Linked DNA regions of Homo sapiens: regions 1 and 3 are each linked to region 2. Evidence: promoter capture Hi-C in 16 types of primary human blood cells and fetal thymus (Javierre and others, 2016). All regions are on one chromosome and are shown on one strand. Each heading gives the region's core, a stretch centred on a gene start or on the middle of the fragment in contact. The rest is flanking DNA. Distances are from core to core; before and after follow the strand shown.

Region 1 (3,935 bases), core at 450-2,949, 470 kb after region 2:
GTCTTTGTTTCTTTCAAACTCGAATAAAAGAATTAACTAGGGAATAGATGGTGTATTTCTTTCCAGATGCTGGAATGAAAGATAAGGACACATATTATACTGAATATAGAAGCAAGAATCCATTGACATAAGAAGACGGTAAAGGAAAATAAACTAGTTATCTTCTGAGGAGCAGGTACAGTTAAAAACGAAATTAGGACAAAGAAAGTTGTATAGCAGCAGCTTGGAAGGGAGATGATTCACTTCAAAGGTACAACTGCCACTGCTTTTTATACAAACACATGCTTGTGGGATTATCAAATATATTAATAATGTCTATAAACATTTTTAAGGAAATGTAAAAACTTGAAATTCTTTTGACTACTCTAGATTTTCTGAGAAAGATAGCTATTTAGGCCGGACCCAGTGGCTCATGCCTGTAATCCTAGGACTTTGGGAGGCTGAAATGGGAAGATCGCAGTTTGAGACCAGGACTTTGAGACCAGCCTGGGCAACATAGAGAGATCCCATCTTGAACTTCTGAGCTCAAGCCATTTGCCTGCCTCAGCCTCCCAAAGTGCTGGAATTATGGGCAGGAGCCACCACGCCTGGCCCAAGAGACCCTATCTCTACCAAACAAACAAACAAACAAAAAAGATAATAAGATTTATTGTTTGCATTGATTTTTTGTGTGTAGATGTGTAATACATAAAATGGCAAATGAGGGGGAAAAGTGTTTGGGTCATATTAAACAATGAAGTTGTGAAATACCTGAGATTTTGTTTCATAACCACTAATCTTCAATGTTGAGCATTTAAAATGTATTTGTTCCAGTTTTTTTTCTCTGTAATTCCTTAGACATCTGTGCAGATTTTCATTCCCACGTAAGAAGCAATAACAGACTAATGTCATCCTGGACATTTCCAGGAATTGGTTTCCTAGTTGCTCTGAGGAAGATTGCCTTTTAAAAGAAAGCTCTGATCTGTTCTTTACCAGTTCCACTTGACCTGAATTTGACATTTCTTTAAGAGACAACTAAATCAAGATCATGTGTCTGTGACATGTATTGCATATGCTAGTTAGCTGCATCTGATAGCAGTCTGTAAAAAGAAAGATGATAACATGTTTATTTTAGACATTAGGTAATGTTCATCTTTCATGAAAAAAATTGATTAGCCAATTTTGGTAATCAAAAACATAAATGGGAGTAAAAAAGGCAGTCATTGGGAAGTACTGCTGTATGGACTTGTGAAACAACTAGTTGTCCAGAGCCTTGCTACAACGTATAGAAATATTCTATTTTCTGTATTTGGGGCGGCTACACTACAAGATGAAGACGGGGAAATGTTTTCCAACTCATCGCTCAGGTCCTACTGCAACATAACTTTCTTGAGGTAAGTACCTTTCTTTGTGTTTCCTTAACACTCTCTATTTTCCCCATCACATACACTAAAAAGATTATCTTTGGTGCATCTGTATTTACACAGCAGTGTTAAATTTGGGCTGCCCTCTGCCCCGCCTCCGTCCCCCAGGCTCTTTTCACTCCCCGCTGGGTCCCAGATCCTAGGGTTTAGCTCAGGCTCCGCCCTACTCCTTGGTTGGCTGTTGGGTGGGAGGCTCGTTTCTTCCCTCCCTATTGGTCGCCCAGGGGGAGGCGCGTTTCCCATCTCCTGATAGGCCGCGCCGAGGAGAGTCTCTCCAGTTTGCGGCACTGTTGTCATTTCCGGGGTAAGATGGCTGCAGTCCGTATGCTGAGAACCTGGAGCAGGAATGCGGGGAAGCTGGTAAGCACGTTTGGGCAGATCTGAGGCCGGGAAGGAGTGATTTGTCCGGAGTCATCCAGGAGTGGTGTTTTACTTTCTCCTCCGGTGCCAGGCGTCCAGGGCACGCGTGATGGAGAGGTGAAGGGATGCATGCAAAATAAAGGGCAGAGAACGGAGCGAGTCGACCAGTCTGGAGTGGAAACCCACTCCCTCCCCTTACCTGGAAGCGCTTCTGCAGCGACTCAGCCGTCCTGCTCCATCTGTACCCCGAGGCCCAGCTAGCGTTTTATTGAGCGCCTTCCAGGTGCCCAGGCATTGTGATAGGCGCTGTGGATCCAGAGATATATTCGTTTAGCATTTATTGCGTACCCACAGTATGCCAAACACTGGTAACACGACCCCTACCCTCAAGGAATCTACAGTGTGTAGAGGAAGAGGCCGTTCAAGTTATAGAATATCAGCAGGGGTCCCTGCTTCCGAAGAACTGAGCAGCTCGGCGTCACTCTTTTGCCTTGTACTTCTATGTCCGCACCACATATCATTCCTACCCTTTTGTCACCAAGGCTGTGACCCATCACCATCTCCCCTGCACTTCCTTCTCTTTCTCCCAGTCTTAGCACCAAGCACTGACACATACCGGTAATGATACTTGTTACCCCTATTTGCTTAGTGTTTCTTCTTCCTGCCTCTTCTCCCTTTCCCTAGATGCTCCTGCCTTGGTGACCCCGATCTTACAAAAACTTTCAAGAGCCTGCTATGTACCAGTGCTGTGTTAGGCACTGGAGATACAAATATGAAATAGACATCATATCTTCCTTCTCAAGAGATTACAACCTTGTGGTGGAGGACAAAGGAGAGGGAGACAGATAGAAATTACAACCCAGCATGAGAGGTACTGTGATGGGACAAGTGCCTAGAACTACAGGAACACACAGGAGTGGACACCTATGGTGGACTTGGGGGTCAGAGGAGTTCCCAGAGGATACTGTATGACTTGAGATGTAAGAAGGATAAGTAAGAGATAACCAGGAGAAGAGAGCTCTTCTCAGCAACACTTAACACATATTGGTCTCTCTTCTTTCTAGAGCTTTCCATTCTTGTTTTCTGTGACACCAGTTTCCCAATATTATTCTTTCTTCATCTTTGGCCACTTCATCCCAATATCCTGTTTCCCTTCCCGCCTTTTAAATATTGCTTTTTCTAAAGGGCTCTGACTTTGGCCCTCTGCACTTTTCCCACTTTCTGGGTTATCCCATCCACTCTTTGGCTTTAGTTACCATCTATGCTGATGAGTCCTAAAGTTCCCCAGTCTTCCAACCAGGTCTACTCCAAACCCATATATCCTACTGTCCTGGAAATCTCCAGTTTCATATGTACGTGATGTTTTCCAGCTGCAATTAAAAACCCAACCAATAAATAGGAAATTAAGTATCCATGCATACAGAGCATCCCCAATTAGATGTCAGCTCACATTAAGTGGCTTATGATTATCAATGTCGTCATTTCCCTAGTAGTTCATTTGTCCTTTTCCTACTGTATACAAGAGGGCTGCTACGACTTCTTCTTTTATGTTGAAGGCAGGAAGGTGGAAGAGGAGGAGGTTCCAGTCTCACTGGCCAGAACTGTGTTACATGGCCCCGGCTAGCACAAGGGAGCTTAGAAAAACTTGTCTTTTTTTTTTTTTTTTTTGAAATGGAGTCTCTCTCTGTCACCCAGGCTGGAGTACAGTGGTGCGATCTTGGCTCACTGCAACCCCTGCCTCCCAGTTTCAAGCGATTCTTTTGCCTCAGCCTCCCAAATATCTGGGACTACAGGCACACGCCACCATGCCCAGCTAATTTTTGTATTTTTAGTAGAGACGAGGTTTCACCATGATGGCCAGGCTGGTCTCAAACTCCTGACCTCAAGTGATCCGCCTGCCTTGGCCTCCCAAAGTGCTGGGATTACAGGATGAGCCACCATGCCCAGCAGAAAAGCTTGTCTTTAGTCTTCTCACAGTGTCTGCCGTAAAGCTTCAAAGCAGGTCAGACTCTCCAGCCTCTAGAACTGAACCCTCAAACCAGTTTCTCTTAATTTTTTTTTTTTTTTTTTTTGAGAAGAGTCTTGATCTGTTGCCCAGGCTGGAGTGCAGTGGTGCAATCTCGGCTTACTGCAACCTCCACCTCCTGGGTTCAAGTGATTTTCCTGCCTCAG
Region 2 (3,728 bases), core at 957-3,456:
AAGACAAAGGAGCTGGAAATTCTTTCCTATGTGAAGAAACATGGTATTTTTCATTTTTCCAGCAATAATTTCTGTCCCTCATATTCTGTAAGAAATGTTCCTCTAATCCACACAGTTCGATGTCAGGTAACATAAGAACTTGCTACTTTTCCCTGTATTTACATAAGGGAAGCTTTCAAGGAGCTCGGGAGGCTGCACAGACATAAACTATGCACATACAACCAGCATAATTGAAAGCAGCCGGCCAAGCACAGTTTCTTGGGAAGCTTGAGCAACACATGCGGTTTGTTGCAGAATCAATTAAGGTTACTGGGAAAAGTTGAGCTCCGGTACAATAAAACGAAACCAAAGTAATTATAATCAAATGAGGTCTTCATGAAGACATGACCGTAAATGGGTTCAGTTTTTTAGAAAGAGAGGCCATCAGTAACAAAAGGCAAATGATTTATGTCTGGTTAGTTTTTTACTCCTCTTGCTAACTTTGTTTGCTGAATGGAGAATGGAGTGGGATGCATTTTGTCAGGCTGGTAAACTAGGGACATCCACTCACTTTCATGAGGCAAATCTAGTTCATTATATAAATATCTTTGAAGTTGAGCGGTTGAGCACCAAGGCTTCATGGCACCAAAAAAACCAAAAAAAAATCCTAAATGTGTCAACACCAAAGTCAAATGATTGAAATGTTTCCAGATATTAACAATTATGTCTAAGAAGAACACTTTTATACTAATACATATTACTAATTATAGATCTACTTAATGTTTAAACTAATTTTAAGCATCAAATTGCATAAGAATAAATGAATAGAAAATCCCTGAAGGATGGAATTCATAAATCAATCAGACACATAAGCAAGTAAACATGTAAGGATGTAATCAAATGGAAATATTTTTTAATAAAACAAAAAGAAACTTAGAAATGATCATTTTACAGCTAAGGAAACCAGAGCCCAGAGAGGTTGAGTCTTATACATGGTCACTGTGTTTGTGGCAGAGGTAGAAATAGAAGCCAAGATTTGGATTCCTGCTCTCTCTCATGTTGGCCTTAGCTGTCCCTAGCTTTCCTGATGTTGTATGTTCTTTAGCCAAGAATCTGTACATGAATATCCATTTTAAAACTTTTTTTAAAATATCATTTTTAAAAAGTGATTTTAAAGTAAAATTGAGAGAAAAACAAAGATTTTCTAAAGCACTCACAGTAGATCTCCACCTGGATTCCTTTTTCCAATTTCCTAGATTCACAAGTTGCTGTGCACAGGTAAGAGTGTTCGTTCCCAAAACTAACAGGATTCATTGTCAGCGTAGATGTGGTCCCCTCATTCGTCACCTTCCCATTCAGTGGACTATCTATCTGGGTTCTCCAAGAGAAAAATGGGGACTCACAGCCTGTGGTGCTGCAAGTCAATGAGACGGAGTCACCAATCTGAGCAAGATATCTAGATTCTGGGGTGGTCTCGATTTTAAAAGCTTGAGCTGCAAAAGCAAAAAAAGACAGAAGCAAATTTACCACTAGTTTGTCTAGTATTCTCCTCCTTCTTCTCTGTATAATGTCTAAAATATGATCAGACTGATCTCTTTCCTAAGCTGCTTCAAACTAACTGCAAGGTAGCCAAAAAGCACCGAAGTCACTGCCAAAAAAGTTTATGGAATCATCTTCAGTAGAGAGAATTCTCAGTTCCAACCTTGATGCCCATTTATCAAAGCTGTTTTGTTATTTGCTAAGTTTGACCTCATTGTCAAGTATAGGAAACTAAAGAGACAGACCGACTAGAGACAGAATCCAAATTACTCAATTGCCTTTGGAAAAAAAGATACCAAAAACATCAATTTTCAGCTCTAACTATGACAGTACAATGGTATATAGCAAAACTCAATTGCATATTAAAAGTTAGACTAAATTAACTTTTCCTACTGTTTAAAATCCTAGTGTCTTTACTTCACTACTATCGCAAAACTGACTGAAGCCAAAACCAGGGCTAAAATTGAATGCTAACATTTGAAACAGATGAAGGGAAATAACTTACAAGCTGCAAACATTATCCAAAGTATATTTGAGGCTCCAAGGATCACGACCATCTTCCCAGGCATTTTAAGTTGCTGTCGTGATGAGAAAATAGTGGTTCCAAAACCCTTATTTGTGTCCCACCTGTGTGTGCCTGGGAGGGTATTCAGCTCCTGAAGCCAGTGAGGCCCGATGCAGATACCGCGGAGTGAAATAGAAAGTCTGTGCTTTATAAAGGGTCTTGTTGCAGAGGCGGAGGGAAATCCCTTCAAGGGGAAACCCAGGGCAGAGCCAGGGAAAAAAGTTTAACAGACACCCAGCCAAGTTCCACTATTAACCCCTTCAGTTGCTCTCACTGCTGAAGCTCCTCTCTCTGTCCTGGCAAAAGAAGACACTTCCAAGACTATAAAATACAGGCTTTTCCTCATCTTCGACTCCAAAAGGCTATCTTTACTGGAAAGATAAAGGACAATGCTGATTGCAGAATGAAGCTTTCTGAATCCAATGTGGGTTAAGGGGGTGGGGAGAGAAAAAATGGAGACAGAGTAGTAAATTCTACTCTGGTTTTTGAACTGGATAAATAACGACTATGCCATGTGAATTGATTTTCTCCATCAAGGAAATATGTTTGCAATTCTAAAAGAGATTAATTTTTTTCTCTTACAAGAGAAAGGAAAAAGTTATTTCTTTTGATGAGTCATTTTTTAAAAAAGGGACACCATAACTTCTTAGTTTTATATTTATTCATAAAAATAGTTCTTTTAGCAACAAACATCAACTTTTTGAAACTATTTTCTTGAGTAGAAAGTAAAGGACTGTAACTGAAATTGCTGCCAAAACAAGGGAAACAATTTTTTTTTGTTTTAGAAAAGTTACCAATAATTTGGTTAAATTGCTGGATAATTGGAATTTTTTTGCATACTTAAATGCAAGTGTATGGAATCCATCTGAAGTGGCAAATCTCTTGGGCTGTGAGATTTAACCGCAAACCCAGTTAAAAAATTAAAAATAATAGGTTTTTATTATAGGCAAGGGGACAATAACCAACTCTATGTTCCTTTTCCCCCCAGTGAAGTGCCTTTTTAAAAAAATCCCAATTAACTAACTGGCTTAGCCTTGCACACACATAGCCCAAGGCCTTGCAAAATGCTTGCCCATCAAAAAGAAACCGGAATAGCCACTTCCTTTTATTAAACACGTGCAGGTCTATCTCCCCCATTGGATCATCAGTTCCTCTCATGGTCAGGACCAGTTCTTGTTCATTGTTGTATCTACTTCTACAATATCTAATGCATGATTTTCCACTTAGTGGATACAAAAAATGCAATAATAAACGTTATACATTTGGAGAAGAAAATTCTAAATACTAGCAATAATATGTAAATACGGCATGAAAAAACTGTTAAATTCTACAAGAAAATTCTAAAGCTCAGAGACTCAATGGGATGTGTACAATAAACTTGTACTATATAACATTTGTACTCTGTAACAAAGGCCATAGCTGAGGTCTGGAATCTATAACTGTCCCTACCTGGTTGGAGAGGCTTCTGGATCTCCTCTTGGATACTGATGTGGCTCCCACTAAAAGACAAGGAGGGAAAAATAAGTTGGAGATGCTGTTCTAGGGTGTGGGGATATATAGGTATGACTTCACCTACCAAATATCTAGGGATCAGAAAAATTGATTCAGGAAATACTAGCTTATAAACAAGTAACCCAGAGGTCCT
Region 3 (3,828 bases), core at 1,183-3,682, 260 kb after region 2:
TCTTTTAGTTCAATTAAAAGACTGAGTGCTGCTTGAATTCCCAGAAAACTAAGCTGACTTAATTAGGGCAGATGTCAAAATAATTAATAAGCCTATAGTAGATAAGTATGCTGTGAAAAGCAATACAGCTGTAATTAAACCAAAGGTGTAATCCTTATAAAAGAATCCTACGTGTGTGTGCAAGTGGAAGAAAATGAAATAACAATCTCAAAAAGATATTACCACATGTAAATGTGACTATCCTATACAAGAACTGACTTCAATGTTAAAGGTTCTGATTTAAAATAAAAACATCTACAATACAGACTGGGTACGGTGGCTCACACCTGTAATCCCCGCACTTTGGGAGGCTGAGGCAGGTGGATGACCTGAGGTCAGGAGTTCAAGACCAGCCTGGCCAACATTCTCCTGAGGTTAGGAGTTCAAGACCAGTTCTGGCCAGCAGAACCCCATCTCTACTAAAAATATAAAAAATTAGCCAGGAGTGGTGGTGGGCACCTGTAATTCCAGATACTTGGGAGGCTGAGGCAGGAGAATTGATTGAACCTGGGAGGCAGAGGCTGCAGTGAGCTGAGATCGCACCATTGCACTCCAGCCTGGGTGACAGAGCGAGACTCTTTGTCTCAAAAAAAAAAAAAAAGAAAAGAAAAGAAAAGAAATTTGCAATATAAAATAAATACATATATTTTTTAAAAGGTAAACATTCACAGGTCAAGGATATAGAGAAAATATCTGTAATAAGAATGTTTAACACCAGAGAGTTTTCTTTGCACAAGGTCTCTCAGGTGAGAAATACTATCAAGAAACACACTGAGTTTTAATGAAAGCTTTGCAGTTCTTCTCCTTTGAATGTGTCAATCCAAGATACGGATGGCTAATCCACAGATAAACTCTACGACGTAGTAATAATAAAACTACTTGAACTAAGAAATAAGGCCAAATTAATCTCAGGAAAAAATACAATTTTTATGGCACAAAACTAAAGTTTGAAAGAGAAGATAGGATTATCTCCTGCTAAACGTTGATATAAACGTTCCCATTAGCTCTCAAGTTCTATTGCTGTTTAAAATACGTGACATGTGGGCTTTTTCTTGGACCTGGGCAATACTGAACAAAATGCAATGGAAAAGCAAACAGGGTGCAAATGAATCACATGGGGACAAGCCAACACACTGGCACCCCACTGTGGCCTGAAAGCAGCACCCACAAATGAGCCAGCAAGTGACACCTTCCTAACAGACTCCACGCCAGAGACAAGATATCCCACAAAGCCAGGGCCCATCCTGCTAGCTAATGGGGAGGGTGGGGAGGGAGAGCTCTGCCCACCCAGGAGGAGGGAGCCTGGCATGGGGAGCCCTGCTCCAAACCCAGGCCACGTGCTGCTCATTTCCATCTCTCTGGGTCTCTGGGAAACCGCAGCTTCCCATTTTTGCTCACATGTTCACAAAGTACCTCCACCTACTCAAATCTTAAACATAGAAACAAGGGCCTACAAAACGGCATTTTAATTTCTGTCAGAACCAAAGCCATACTCGTCTGAATAAGTCAGTTACAGCAGCACTAGGCACATGAAAAGAACAGCACCCTCCCCAACACCTACTAGATGATTAGCATAAAATGAGAGGGAAACCGGGTCTAGACCCAAAACCATAAGCACAGCACCACCCAGCGACACTAGGAGGAGCTGCACATGAGGAACTCGAGGCTCCAGCCCAGGGCGGCCCTAGTGATTTCTCCTCGCTGAAATCAAAGACCCAGTAAAATATCTGGAATATTTCCAGTATTATCCATACCGAAAGATCTGGAATGGAGTGGATTTTAAGCCTCCTCGAAGTCAAACAAGCTTAGAGCAAATGGCATGTCATATTTTCTGAGTAGCTGACATGGGGTTGCCAGATAAAATACAGAATGCATGTTCCCTGCAATATTTGGGACATATTTATACTTTTTGTTTTAAAAGTATTCATTGTTTATCTAACTTTCAAATTTAATTAGGCAGCCTGTATTTTTATTTGCTAAATCTGGCAATCCTAAACCTTCTATAGTCTGAACAATTCCTGCCCCAAAGTATCCACCCCCAGAGATCAGAGATTTTTGCAAAACAAACTCTTTAAGTTTATTCCATGAGGCAGCATCACATCAGCAGCATTGTAAGCTAGCGGATTGCCCCTAGCAACAGGCATGGAAGACGCTCTGCTCCATGAAGCCAAAGACTAGGAGGGGAGGGAAAAGCAGAGACTGGAATGGGGGTCCAGATAACTGGGTCATAAAACAGAACCACGACAGTGCAAGAGGATGGAGAAGAGATGGGCAATTCTGAAAAAAAACAAAGGAGAGAGGAAAACTAACAACCCTTGTCTCTTGAGAATTTTACCTGTTTAAAGGTGTTCCTGCAGCCTAAAGACACTGCTACTGTGTTTCCCCTCATTGTGGCACGTGGGCCTGGAAAGGTAAGGTCTGAAAAACTGGCATATCAAGAAAGCCACACCACCACCAATTGTCCACACCCAAGCAATCGTTTCTTTAAGAAGGGGTTATTAAAATGAGTTTGTGTCCCAGTTGTCTGAAATTTAAAACCTCATTGTTTTTCTAAGACACTAAACAGGTTTTGTTTTATGTTATTTGCTCTTCCTTGGCCCGCCCCTTCGATAAGCACAGCCACCACCACCGAGGCCTTGCACACACCTTTGCAGTGAACGGCGATGGCCCCTTCGGTGTTCTCACAGATGTTCAGGAACCTTCGCACGATGTTGTCACTGGGTGTGCTGCCATCTATGAAGAAGAGGTCATAGTGCTCGAAGCCAGCGTCTGTGAAGCGCTTTGCCTCATAAATCTTTTTGTTTAGCCTCACAACTGCAGTCACATTATGCTTTTTGAAATAAGGAAAGTAGGCTTCAGGGGCGTGAAGAGGATAACCTAAAGGAACAAAGGAGCAGTAAGCAAAAGGCATGCATTTCATCTTCCACAACCCAGAAATACAAAACTCTCAACAATGAAGTGTATAAATCTCAACAAAGCTTGGGAGGAAAGTGTGTTGTGTGAGAGAAGAGGTCACAGCAAGCTCCTACAAGCATCAATCTGCATAACTGTAAGCACCACAGGAGGTTAAAAAGAAAACTTCTGTAAGTACTGAAAATACATCATTAAAGTTCAAAATCTCAACCTCTAGATTCGAATCCTGGGAGCATACTCTTCCCACTCCCAAGACAAAAGCATTCTTGAAGTAATCAAATGTGCATAACAGACCTAGAATGGTGACTTTATTCTCTCTTGAGCTTTATTCTCTACTTGACAAACAGTTTTCAACTACAGCTGAAGCTTTTTTGCCATATGTATAGTTTTAATTTGTAGTACAATGCTCCCCAGAAGCAATTATTATTAAGCACCTACTATGTACAAGTCACAATTGCGTATCATTTCAAATTCTCAAAACCATCTCTTAAGTATGGCTAATTCCATTTAACAGATTAAGAAACTAAAAGAGGGGGTGTTGGGAGGATATTGGTCAAAGAAAACAAAATTTCAGTTAGAAAGGAGTATGTCCCAGAGATCTATTGTACAACATAGTGACTATAATAACAATGTATTATATACTTTAAAGTCATTTAGAAAGTAAAATTTAAGTCTTCTCACCACAAAAAATGATAAATATGTGAATACTTAAGTAAGACTTGACTTAACCATTCTACGATGTATACATATTTCAAAAGTTGTTGTACACCATAAATATATAATTTTTATCAATTAAAATATAAATTTTTTTAGTTAAAAATAAACAATAACTTTTGTGGACACTTCCTTTTTTTGAGGGAGGAAGATGCTCCACCT

What was found. Contacts are between HindIII fragments. The CHiCAGO score rates a contact against its expected background, and 5 or more counts as called.
Region 1: the fragment with the promoter of DBT here is called in contact with the fragment with the promoter of VCAM1 in region 2 in 2 of 17 cell types (naive CD8 T cells and total CD8 T cells); the score reaches 6.4 in naive CD8 T cells.
Region 3: a fragment that was not itself captured here is called in contact with the fragment with the promoter of VCAM1 in region 2 in 3 of 17 cell types (M1 macrophages, endothelial precursors and M0 macrophages); the score reaches 8.3 in M1 macrophages.

What each region holds. Positions count from the first base shown.
Region 1 is chr1:100,247,598-100,251,532 of GRCh38, reverse strand. It overlaps DBT (dihydrolipoamide branched chain transacylase E2), which reads left to right and starts at 1,699. Exons shown (of 11, transcript NM_001918.5): 1 at 1,699-1,763. The coding sequence starts at 1,713. RefSeq lists a silencer at 1,480-1,579 and enhancers at 1,690-1,809, 1,411-1,970, 1,971-2,530. The HindIII fragment of the contact is 8,889 bases long and covers 1-3,720 here.
Region 2 is chr1:100,718,220-100,721,947 of GRCh38, reverse strand. It overlaps VCAM1 (vascular cell adhesion molecule 1), which reads right to left and starts at 2,206. Exons shown (of 9, transcript NM_001078.4): 1 at 2,024-2,206; 2 at 1,197-1,472. The coding sequence starts at 2,087. The HindIII fragment of the contact is 1,026 bases long and covers 1,469-2,494 here.
Region 3 is chr1:100,461,739-100,465,566 of GRCh38, reverse strand. CDC14A (cell division cycle 14A) reads right to left here. Exons shown (of 16, transcript NM_003672.4): 9 at 2,686-2,916. Among named protein-coding and RNA genes, the nearest start is that of GPR88, 74 kb to the left of the region's middle. RefSeq lists enhancers at 1,430-1,519, 2,798-3,419. The HindIII fragment of the contact is 1,174 bases long and covers 1,846-3,019 here.